Linked DNA regions of Homo sapiens: region 1 is linked to region 2. Evidence: promoter capture Hi-C in human tissues and cell types (Jung and others, 2019). All regions are on one chromosome and are shown on one strand. Each heading gives the region's core, a stretch centred on a gene start or on the middle of the fragment in contact. The rest is flanking DNA. Distances are from core to core; before and after follow the strand shown. Region 1 overlaps ADPGK-AS1 (ADPGK antisense RNA 1). Region 2 holds the start of NEO1 (neogenin 1).

What was found. The method cuts DNA at HindIII sites, captures the fragments that hold promoters and counts their contacts. A contact is called where the count stands out against the background at its distance.
Region 1: a contact is called between a fragment that was not itself captured here and the fragment with the promoter of NEO1 in region 2, in 6 of the 25 tissues and cell types used here (IMR-90 fibroblasts, aorta, dorsolateral prefrontal cortex and 3 more).

What each region holds. Positions count from the first base shown.
Region 1 is chr15:72,790,122-72,796,113 of GRCh38, reverse strand. The region is part of intron 2 of ADPGK-AS1 (ADPGK antisense RNA 1); the gene reads right to left. Among named protein-coding and RNA genes, the nearest start is that of ADPGK, 9.4 kb to the right of the region's middle. The HindIII fragment of the contact is 9,698 bases long and covers 1-5,992 here.
Region 2 is chr15:73,048,787-73,054,700 of GRCh38, reverse strand. NEO1 (neogenin 1) reads right to left here and starts at 2,238. Exons shown (of 29, transcript NM_002499.4): 1 at 1,896-2,238. The coding sequence starts at 2,025. RefSeq lists silencers at 1,919-2,298, 2,529-2,848, 2,939-3,008, 3,069-3,118. The HindIII fragment of the contact is 9,189 bases long and covers 1-4,845 here.

The DNA.
Region 1 (5,992 bases), core at 2,621-5,120, 260 kb after region 2:
TTAAGAGTTATTATAAAATAAGTATTTGTACCTTTCTGCATTTTCTAAATAATATTATACAGTGAATCTGTATTGTTTTGTGTTTGTTTTGTTGTTTTGTTTTGTTTGACAAGGTCTCACTCTGTCACCCACGCTGATCAAGTGCAGTGGTGTGATCAAGCTCACTGCAGCCTTGACCTCCCGCGCTCAAATGATCCTCCCACCTCAGCCTTCTAAGTAGCTGGGACAGCTAATTTTTGTATTTTTGTAGAAACGAGGTTTTGCCCTGTTGCCCAGTTTGGTCTCGAACTCCTGAGCTTAAGCAATTCTCTCATTTTGGGATTAGAAAGGAGCCACCATGCCCAGCTCCCTATTTTATTTTCTGTCTAAAACTTATCAATATCTGATATTTTTCATTTGTTTATTATTTATTTGTTGTGACCTTACCCTGTTAGAATATGAATTCCATGAGAACATGGACCTTGTCTGTCTTAGTGACTAGACTAATGTCTGGCACTCAATAAACAATTGTTGAATAATAAAATAATGAATCCTCCAGCAACTACATTATATGGATGTCATTCTTTCCATTTTACAAATGGGAAACTGGGCTGGAAAAGATTAAGCAACTTGCTCCAAACTGCACTGTTAATGGTAGTGGTGGTGGGGATATAGGGTGCTAAGATTTGAATCTCGGGTTTCCAAAGACATACCATATTTCTTTTTTAAAAAAATTCTGTTGGGAGGCCAAGGTGGGCAGATCACGAGGTCAGGAGTTTGAGACCAGCCTGGCCAATGTGGTGAAACCCCGTCTCTACTAAAAATACAAAAATTAGCTGGGCGTGGTGGCAGGTGCCTGTAATCCCAGCTACTTGGGAGGCTGAGGCAGGAGAATCGCTTGAACCTGGGAGGCAGAGGTTGCAGTGAGCCAAGATCACGCTATTCATTGCACTCCAGCCTGGGCAACAAGAGCAAAACTCCATCTCAAAAAAAAAAAAAAAAAATTCTGAGACAGGAAGCAGGATGAACTGAAGCTGGTTGTGTCTATCTCCTTTTATGGCAATAGCCCTTCTTTATACCACAGGCCCAGACCACAGTGCCTGGACTAGAAGCAGCTAACATCCCAAGTGGTCAGCCCTTGGGGTCACTGGCTCTCAGCAGCAGTGGCAAGGCCTGCAGGTTTCTCATGGATGTTGCTCGCCACCCTCCCAGAAAGAGCAGACAAATCATTCTCCCCAGCTTGTCCCCATTCATGCTTACATTTTTTTAAATGAATTAATACTTTTAATAATTTATTTCTAAATCTTTCTTTAAAGGGGCATTACAGTCTATTGCGAACAGATCTGCAGGCAAGTCAGCCTGACGTTGAAACTATAATACATGTTTTTCTTAGTTTTGGCACTATTTACTGTTTAGAACAAAAGAGAATAACTTTTAAAATAACAAATGGATAGTACTTCACTGGGAACATCATCCAACAGATAGATTTTCTTTTCATACCACAAATCTACATATCTTTAGTCAAAGTTATATTAAGAAGTTAATTTCCCAAAAGAAACAAGAGTAAACAGTCATGATGAGACTTAGCTGGGTTTTCTTGAGAAACGAAATTAAAAACAAGCTGTACTGCTTACTTTTCAGCAAATTCTACTTTGCCAAGTTTCAGAAGGAAAAGCCTAACATACTGGAAACTACCACATGTAGTTTCCAGTGTTGTCCCCTTGCCCGGGAGAATCTGGGGGACCTACTTCTTCCTGACAGCCTGCTTTGTCACCACCAAATCCATCAGCATGATGGCTTCACTCCCTACCACAAGCAGCCTAGCACCTGGGTTGGAGTTGATAAATTCCGCAAACCTGGGTCGGAGTAGATAAATTCTGCTGCCTCTTCAACGGAGCTATGGATTTCAGGGCTCCATCTATGTGCGTCAGTCAGTTTGAATGCAGCTAGTTACTTACTGCAAGTTTGCCAGCTCTCTGCAACAAAAATCCGGCATATCAGTCCATTTCTCTCCCCATTACAACTTGAGTAGGTACTGAGTAGCAATTTTTTTTCCAGAGCTCCTGATGTCTGTCCACTCTATGATCCACCAGTTTGGTCATGTGGCAAACTCTGTTACAATCAACATTTTGGAAAATTTACCATCACTGTCATGTTATTCAGAAGCAGCAGCTCTTGGTGACTGTGATTTCTGTGGCTATTCTGGGATTGGGGGAAGGAAATGCCCCAGAAATTCCCTTTCCTACTTCCTTGATCCAACCCTTTCAGCCTCTCTTTTCCTTCTGCAGTATCTAAGTGAATATTGGAGCTTTTCTGTGTAAGAAAAAAAAAAATGGCTGGGCATTGTGGCTCACACCTGTAATCCCAGCTACCCAGGAGGCTGAGGTAGGAGATTGCTTGAGGCCAGGGGTTCAAGACTAGTGTGGGCAACATAGTGAGACCCCCTTCTCTAAAAAAAAATTAAAAAAAAAACATTAGCCAGTCAAGGTGGCATGCACCTGTAGTCCCAGCTATTCAGAAGGCTGAGGAGGGAGGATTGCTTGAGCCCAAGTGTTTGGAGTTTGAGGCTGCAGTGAGCTATGATGATGCCACTGCACTCCAGCCTGGGTAACAGAGTGAGACCTCATCTCTAAAAATAAACAAATAAATAGGGAGAAGCCGTAGAGACCTACAGGCTTATTATATTGATTGGTCAGTGTAGCCCTTTTTGAGGAAATTGTATTTGAGCAGAGATATGAATGACATAAAGCAGCCAGGCATGCAAAGATCAAGTCACAGAGTATTCCAGATGAAAGTAAGAGCCAGAGCAAAGACTCTTAGGAAGGGTAGGCCTGGTGCGGTGGCTCATGCCTGTAATCCCAACACTTTAGGAGGTTGAGGTGGGCGGATCATGAGGTCAGAAGTTCAAGACCAGTCTGGCCAACATAGTGAAACCCCGTCTCTACTGAAAATACAAAAAATTAGCCAGTGTGGTGGTGGGCGCCTGTAATCCCAGCTACTCAGGAGGCTGAGACAGAAGAATTGCGTGAACCCAGGAGGCGGAGGGTGGAGTCAGCCGAGATCACGCCATTGCACTCCAGCCTGGGCAACAGTGGGAGACTCCATATCAAAAAAAAAAAAAAAAAAGATGGGTATCAGGTAGCTTTTGTTCAATAATAAACCACTTCAAAATTCAGTGACATAAAAATAATAACCATTTATTTATTATTACTTTGTGGGTCAGTAATTTGGGCTGAGCTCAGATGGGCTGTCTTCTGGTCTCAGATGATCTTACTTTTGTGTCAGTGGTCAGCTACTAATCAGCTAGGTGACTTTGCTTCTTAGGGTTGCCTGGCTATCAGCTGGAGTGATGGGAGCAAGCGGGCCATATTTCTTTCATCATCTAGCAGGCTATCCCAGGCTTGTTGATAAGTCTTGTTGATATGTGGCAGTGCAGGGTTGCAAGAGAGAGTAGAAGCATGCAAGGCCTCCTCAGGCTTTGACTCAGAAATGGAACGATGTCACTTCTGCCATATGCTATTGGCAAGGCCAGCCCAGATTCAAGAAGTGGAGAAACAGACATCACTCCTTGATGGGAGACTGAGAGACAAGGTCACAGAGAAAAGGAGAATTATGATACTTGTAACACACCATGAGCAAGAATGAACAAAGAACAGAAAAAAAAAATTCCAGCATGTCCAGAGCAATTGTTGGGGAGTGTTATGGGCTGAACTGTATTCCCTTCAAAATTCATATATTGAAGTCCTAATCCCTAGTACCTCAAAATGTGACTGTACAGTCTTTAAAAAGGTAACTAAGTTTAAATGAGGTCAGTAGGGTGGCCACTAATCCAATATAACAGGTAAGGGAATGAAAAGACAGACAAGAAAATATTTGCAAATCACAGGTCTTATAAAGGACTCGCATCCAGAGTATTTTTTTAATTCAGTAATAAGAAAAAAACAATCTAATAAAAATGGGCAAAAGATATGAACAGATACTTGACCAATGAAGATATGAAAAGATGCTCAACATCATTAGTCATTAGGAAAATAAAAATTAAGACAAAGATATACCTACATATTTATTAGAATGGCTAAATTTAAAAGACTTACCGTACCAAGTCTTGGCAAGCAAACAGAAGAACTAGAACTCTAATAGAATGCTGGTAGGTATATAAAACGGTACAACCACTTTGGAAAACAATTTGATAGTTTGTTAAAAAGTGGAACATACATCTGTTACATGATTCAGGTATTCCATTCCTAGATATTTCCCAAGAGCAATTAAAGCCTACAAAAAGACCTGTAAACAAATGCTCATAGCAACTTTATTTGTAATAGTCAAAAACTAGAAAGAACCCAATGTCCATCAACAAATGAATAGATAAACAAATAATGGTATATCCATACAATGGAATACTATTCAGCAACAAAAAGCAATAAACTAGCACAATCTATAGAAGAAAAAATAATCAACACATTACACTTCATCAAGAAGAAAAACTTTTATTCTGTGAAAGGCTCTATTAAGAGGATGAAAAGACTGGAAGAAAATATTGCATACCATGTATCTGGCAAAGGACTTTTATCTATAATATATGATATATAGTCTCAAAATTCAATAACAAAAAACAAACAATTCAATTATAAAATGGGCAAAAGGCTTGAAGAGACAGCCAGCCACGGTAGCTCATGCCTATAATCCCAGCACTTTGGGAGGCGGAGGCAGGCGGATCACTTGAGGTCAGGAGTTCAAGACCAGACTGGCCAACATGATGAAACCCCGTCTCTACTAAAAAATACAAAAATTAGCCGGGTGTGGTGGTGCGCACAGATAGTCCCAGCTACTTGGAAGGCTGAGGCTGGAGAATCGCTTGAACCCAGGAGGCAGAGGTTGCAGTGAGCCGAGATCACACCACTGCACTCCAGCCTGGGCAACAGGGCGAGCCTCTGTCTCAAAAAAGAAAAAAAAAAACCTGAAGAGACACTTCACTGAGGAAGATATATGGATGGCAAATAAATACATGAAGAGATGCTCAACACTACTAGCCATTAGGGCAATGTAAACTAAGACCACAAACAGATGTCACTATACACCCATTAGAACAAAACCTAAATTAGTGACAATATCAAGTGCTGGTGAGGATGTGAAGAAACTGGATCTCTCATATGCTGCCTGTGGGGATGTAAAAGAAAACTAAACATAAAACCCAGCAATTGTATTCCTGGGCGTTTCTCTCAGAGATATGAAATATGTGCACCCAATACTCTGTACATGATTGTTTATTGCAGCTTTATTTGCAATTGCCCAAAACTGGCAACAACCAATTGCCCAAAACTGGCAACAACTCAGGCTTTGACTCAGAAATGGAACGATGTCACTTCTGCCATATTCTATTGGCAAGGCCAGCCCAGATTCAAGAAGTGGAGAAATAGACATCACTCCTTGATGGGAGACTGAGAGACAAGGTCACAGAGAAAAAGGAGAATTATGATATTTGTAACACACCATGAGCAAGAATGAACAAAGAACAGAAAAAAAAAATTCCAGCATGTCCAGAGCAATTGTTGGGGAGTTCTCCTTCAATGAGTGAATGACTAAGCTAACTGTGATCTTTCCATACCACAGAACATTACTCAGTCAAAAAATAAAAATAAATAACAAAAATGAACTATTGACACATGCAACAGTGTTGGATGCATCTCAAGGGTATTATGCTCTCAAAAGATCACATACTGTATGATTCCATTTATAACATTTCTCAGAATGACAAAATTACAGTGATGCAAAGCAGATTAGTGGCTGCCAGGGTCTAGGAATGGTAGAGGATGGGGGTTGGGTGTGACTAAAGGGATAGCATGAGGGAGATCTTCGTGGTGATGGGACAGTTCTTGCAACTTGATTGAGTGGTGATTACCCGAATCTCCATATATAATAAGACGGCACAAAACTATACATACACCTTGCACCAATGTCCGTTTACTGGTTTTGATGCTGCACTATGATTATGTAAGATATATCCATTGAAAGA
Region 2 (5,914 bases), core at 989-3,488:
AATCAGGAGATCTATGTTCTAGACCCAATTAAACGACTAATTACCTGTGAGCCTCCCCACCTCCACTCCTACCCACTCCTCAGATCTCAGTTCTTGTGAGACACTCTTAACACCCAGACTAGGTTATGTCACTCCAGTACCCACTTTGTGAAAACCTATTCTCCTTTGTAGTGCTTATCACAATTACTTAATTATATAATCAGTAGATGGATGGCTATCTTTCCTACCCACACACCAGACTGTAAACTCCATGAAGGCAGAGAGCATATGCCTTGCACCTCATCTGTGCAAAATAAAAACCTGTCAATTGAGTTAATGTTGAAACAGATGTTAAGACCACTTCCTGAGACTGCTTGCATTATTTTTATTATCCTAAGTAATAAAATTACTAGCATTTTAGTTACTTACAAAATTATCGGCAAAACTTTAAACAAAAACTTGAAATTTGGTGAACTACATATGAATTTCCATATAAAATAGATCATGAGTAACAGGAACTTGTTTTCCAAAATAGTTATATTTCTCTTGCTCATCTAAGAGACAGTTGGATCAGTAACCTGCATTTCAGCACCAAAATGTGTTCTAAACCATATACGGACTGAATGTATAAGGGTACATCATGACATAAGTGATGTTTAATTTGACATTAAAACACTATTGTTTACGTAGCTGTTTAGAGAATACCGAGTGGTACTTTACGTTTAAAGCTGTTCTTTAACATTGGCAAAAGCCATGAGCTACATACACACTCTGCAAGGAAATGAAAAGTTTATCAGTCAAGTTACCTTGCAGTGTGATTTTAAATATTATTTCATATAAATCAGGGAAAAACAAGTACTGGTTCAGCGGTAAGACTGCTTTCAAATGTAAAAATATCATATCTCACACGAGTGAAAGTTTTGTCAAGTTTTATGGTACACCACCTTGGTCAAATAATTTTAACAGATTACATGCTAATTTGCCTTTCAACTGCTGAGTGTATCCTGCTCAACAATACCGTAAGGTCCTTCCCGGAAGGCTTGGCATTTTTGTTCGTTGGTCCCCTTAATAGGAATGCAGGTGGTTTCAGTAATCTATAATATTCCAAAAAAGAACTGAAAATGGCTTTTGAGGTTCAATGTTTATACAATGCCATCTGAAAACATTGTACAAGTACCTAAAATCTGATGCTTAGACAATTCCCTTGGTTAAGAGTGGTTAATAGGCTGTAAATATAGTTGTAATCCCCAGGAAAGAAGAGGCATTTCATAACGGAAACACTAACAGATACGATCACTCCGAGCCGCTCTCCAAGGCGTCCTCATCGTTAAATCAACACCAGGGGTTGTGAGCGGGCAATTGTGCCCCTCTGACACCCCCGCTCTTCCGCAGACTCGGGCTCCAATCCCCGCGCGAGGAGTCCCTCGAGACTAGCCAGCTCTTCCTCGAGACTTCGGAAGCTGGGAAATCCCTGGCCAGGGAACCAGGAGCTCAAGCCCCCTCCCCTTTCCTTTCCTGAAAATTAATGAATTGGCCGTCTGATTGTTTATTTAATGAGGTGTGTAGTGGCCTCTACTGGTGCTAGTGTGAGCACAAGAATGTCCCACTCTTACAAGTGGGATGAGCCTGGGGGAGGGGAGAGAGGCGAGGGGTGAACCTGCCTCCAGGTACAAAGCTGGGAACTAGACCCCTGCGCCCCCGACCTGCCCCCCGGCAGCCGCCCCTTCCCCGGTGGCGCCCCCTCTCGCCCTTCTCCTCCCCACCACGCGCGATCCCCTTTCTCTTCGGCAACCGGAGCCGAGGCAGAGAAGTTCCTGCACGTTTCCTCCTGGATCCTAAACAAAAACACCGCAGCCGCGGCCGCCTGAGCCGGTGCCGCGCCCCCGCGAACCCCCGGGCCCGCGCCCGCCGCTTACCTGGGGACTGCGGCGCGGAGCCGCTCCTGGCGGCCGCGGCGCCCGGCGCCCGGCGCCCGAGCAGCAGCAGGCAGTAGAGCCAGAAGGAGGGGGTGCTGAGGAGTCGCCGGGCTCCCCGCTCCGCCGCCATCTCTTCCCCGAGAGTGAGCGGCAGCGGCGGCGACAGCGCCGCGGAGCCCTTGCCTCCTTCCCTCCCGCGCGCCTCAGCCGGTCCCTCGCTGCAAGCTCGGCTCCCGCGGCCGCCGCTGCTCCAGCCCAGCCCGGCCCGGCCCGGCCCGCGCAGCCCCTCTCGCTGGAGGGGAGACTCCAGGGCGCCTCCCTCCTGCAAGGGGGCGGGGAGGGGAGGAGAGCGAAGAAGGGGAGTCAGTACATTCCGGGGCGGGGGGGGGGGGGCGGTGGGTCGGTCTCCAGGTTCCAGGCGCCGCCACCCGCCGCCGACTCCGGCTCCACACACCAGCGCGAGGGGGGCGGAGACCGCGGACGGCGGGGGCGGGGGCGGGGGCGGGGGGCGGGAGTCCCGGGCGCGCACACGCGCACGCGCGCGCCTCGCCCGCACCCCCTCGGCTCCGCGCGCGGCCCGCCCCCGCTCCAATCCCGGCTGCCGCCTCTCGGGCCGTGGCGGGCCCGCTCCCCTCCCCCTTCTCCCCGGAGCCGCTGACGGGTGCGGGGCGCGCGCGCCGGGCGCTGCTGCTGGCGTCAGGGAAACCCCGGAGAAGCGGATCCTCCTGCTCCTCCCGCCCGCTCGCCGCAGCCCCTCGGCTCCGCGCGCCCCCGCCTCCTCCTCCTCGCCTCGGGGACAAATTCCCCCCTCACCTCCCCAGATGCCTCTGGCTGCAGAGACCTGAGGGCGAGAGGCGCTCCGAGCTCAGGCTGGTCCGGGAGGCCGGCGTGGGCGCGCACCTCTGCACAGTCCGGGCCTGGAGCCTCTATATAGGGCCTCAGAGGAAACCGAAAGGCCTCCGGGAGGAAACCTGGGTGCGCAGTGGGTCGGCCCGGGGATTTATGTGCTCGCCAAAAACAATAGCGATCCCGCCCGACTCTTGCTGGGCCCTGGCGCGGCTCCCGTGGGAGGGGGCCGGCCGCGCAGCCGCTGACCTCCGGCTCCCAAGCCGGGCCGCCGTCGCCGCGCGCTTCCCCCGGGCAGCGCCGGGACCCGCCCGAACCGCGCCCCCACCCGCATCGCTCGGCCCGGGTCCAGGGAACTAGGCACAGACAAAGGTGCCCGCTGTCCACTTCCTCAGCTCGTGCGGGGGCCCCGACCGAGCCCTGGGACTCCCCGGGGCCAGTCTTCTCGCAGTAACTGCTACGTTTTACCTGTACCTTTGCGGGACACTTGGCGTTTTCCTACCTGGGAATCACGTCTTTCGCTGATAAACCAAGGAGCAAGTGGGATATGATTTTAAACCACTTAGTAATCGTGAGGCAGCACCCAGGCTACACAAAGTTAGGAGAAAGCAGTTTGTAGTTCCACTGCTGATGAGACTATTGATCATTTTATATACTGCACCCATGAAAAATTTTTAAAGAAAATTTATTTGTATGATTATGCAAGCAGAGTCACGTTTGGTGGTTGATAGGCGTTGGGTTTTATTCACTCTTCTGTGTAGTCGATAACCGAAATGTCTTGCTTCCCACAAGAAAATGGCTATTTCACTAACATATCCCTCTGTGCTTTCTCATAGTTACTTTCCAAAGATATTTTATTCTAAAGCGCCAAAATGAACAATGTAAGACATGGATTAACGTCGGGAGGGAAGAGCTCAGAATCTTCATAAAACCTTAAATCATCAAAACGGTGAAATTAGGAATTCTCATGCTAGTTCTTTGAAACAATTGACTTAATAGAGGAAACACATGCTTATGGTTTTTCACTAGGGAAACCATTTAAATACCTTTTTGTTTTGGTTAGAGTTGTTAACCAGCAAAAATATTTCCTAAATACCCGTGATTGACCTGTTAAATTAGAAATAGATTACCTCCCAATTACTTCACAAGTATTTGCTTAATTAACCTTTAATAATCACATCATTATTCAGTTTTCTGAGATAATTAATGAGAAAAGCTCTTTGAAAACTGTAAATTGCCTTGCAAATGTTAATTTCCTGATATCTTTTCTAAGTCTGGAAAAATTTCATTATATTAAACCTATAACGTGTAATATGACTTCTGAGATGAAGCTTACATTTATCTCCAAGTTTTGAAAAATACATGAGTTGTGGCTAATAACAGACTGATTTTCATATATGACTTATATGAACTGTCTCACTAATTTATCAGCCCACTGTGTATATCAGGTTAATATCAAAAAGTTTAAAACAGTTGTATATTTCTGGCTTCTGATTAAATCACAATTTTAATAAAACCCACTCTATTAAACCACTAGTAGATGGAGCCCCAGATTAAAGCTACAGATCCTAAATCAGTTCAAGATAGTTAAGTAACTCAGGCACACACTTGAATTCAGCTCCTTTACTTTGTTTCAAAGTCACTGACACTGTCGACATGCCCTTTAAAAATCATCATTGAGTAATTAACCTGTTCTTTGTTTAGTAAAGCATATCTGAGAAAAGATTTTCTTAGGCATCTCTTTTATCATTCTTATTCTCCCAACAAGATTTTCAACAAATACTTCAGCCTGCACGTATACTGCTAATCAACACTTTTATGTTGTCTAAACTATCAATCTATGAAGAGATATTAAACCACTGGTGAAATTAACAGTTTTTTCATCTAAGTAAAGTTAGAACATGAGGCCCATGTTCAAGGAATAAGTGCACAAAGAAACTTTAGAGCAAAGAAAACAGAGTGGCCATTGTGTGTCTGTAAAAGTTATCGAAATGCAGGCCAAAAATAACTAGACTGATATCTTGTGAAATTTATGCTAATGTATTTTGATATAAAAATTACATGAAATATTAAAGCCTATGAATATAAAACTTGGTAGGAATCTTATTCTCTATAGTAAAAGGATTTTTTTTTCAACATTAGAAAGGACGTACAATTCAGTGTTTAACTGCTGGCAGTAATGAGATTCTGCAGCTGATTCCCTGGCTGAATCCCAGTGTCCGAGGTTGAGAAGAAGAAAGCTAGTCCCCTGACTAGCAGATCTCAGGATAGAACACTTCCTAGTCACAGCAGACTTCAACTAGAAGTTGCCCCAGTCTTAAGAAAGTGATTTTCTTCTGCACAGAGATTGTTATTTTTATATTTGCCCTTTACATTCCACTAGGTAAGAATTTTTATTTTCTCCCGTTCTCCTTCAGAAGCCACCTGCTCTAGGGAGCCATCTCTGATTAAGCGTAATTAAAAAGGATGTGTGCTCCTTTTTAAGTACAAGCATGCTCAATATTAATTTTGCTTGTCACATGTTGCTTAGTTGATCACATATCTTTAGTTCAACAACAATCTATTAATTCAGCAAAAATTATTGAGGACCTGTTTTCACCAAGTATTGTGCTGGATGCTGGGATAACAAAATTATTGGTTCATTCATTTAATATTTATAAAGTACATCCTGTGTCTCTGGTCCTGGCTTATGTTAAGGGAAGACAGTGATGAGCCAGATAAACAAAGTTCCCAGTCTAGCAGAAAGGGTAAACAATTATAACAAAGAAGTGTAAAGACTGTTATGGTAAGGAAAGATAAGGAGTGTGGGAAAACTTAGTAAGAGCATCTAACTTGACTAAATTGTGTGTGGGGGTGGGAGAAGGAGAATTAGAGAAGCTTTGGCCTCTAAACAGAGACCTGAAGGTAGATAGGAGTCAGCCACGCCTACAGGTGGGATTTGACCTCAGATTTGCGTTTTAGAGGGAACACTGAGGCTGCTTCTTGGAGTGTAGTTTGGAAGAAGTCGAGACCAAAAAAAAAAAAAAACAGTTCAGATTTTGTTACAATAGTCTAGGGAGGAGATGATGGTGGCCTGGAGTAAAGCAAAGGGGATTAAGAAAAGTGAACAGATAAGAGAGAGATTTAGGAGATAGATAGAAACAGCAGGGGTGTGTGGGAGAGATAGGAGATGT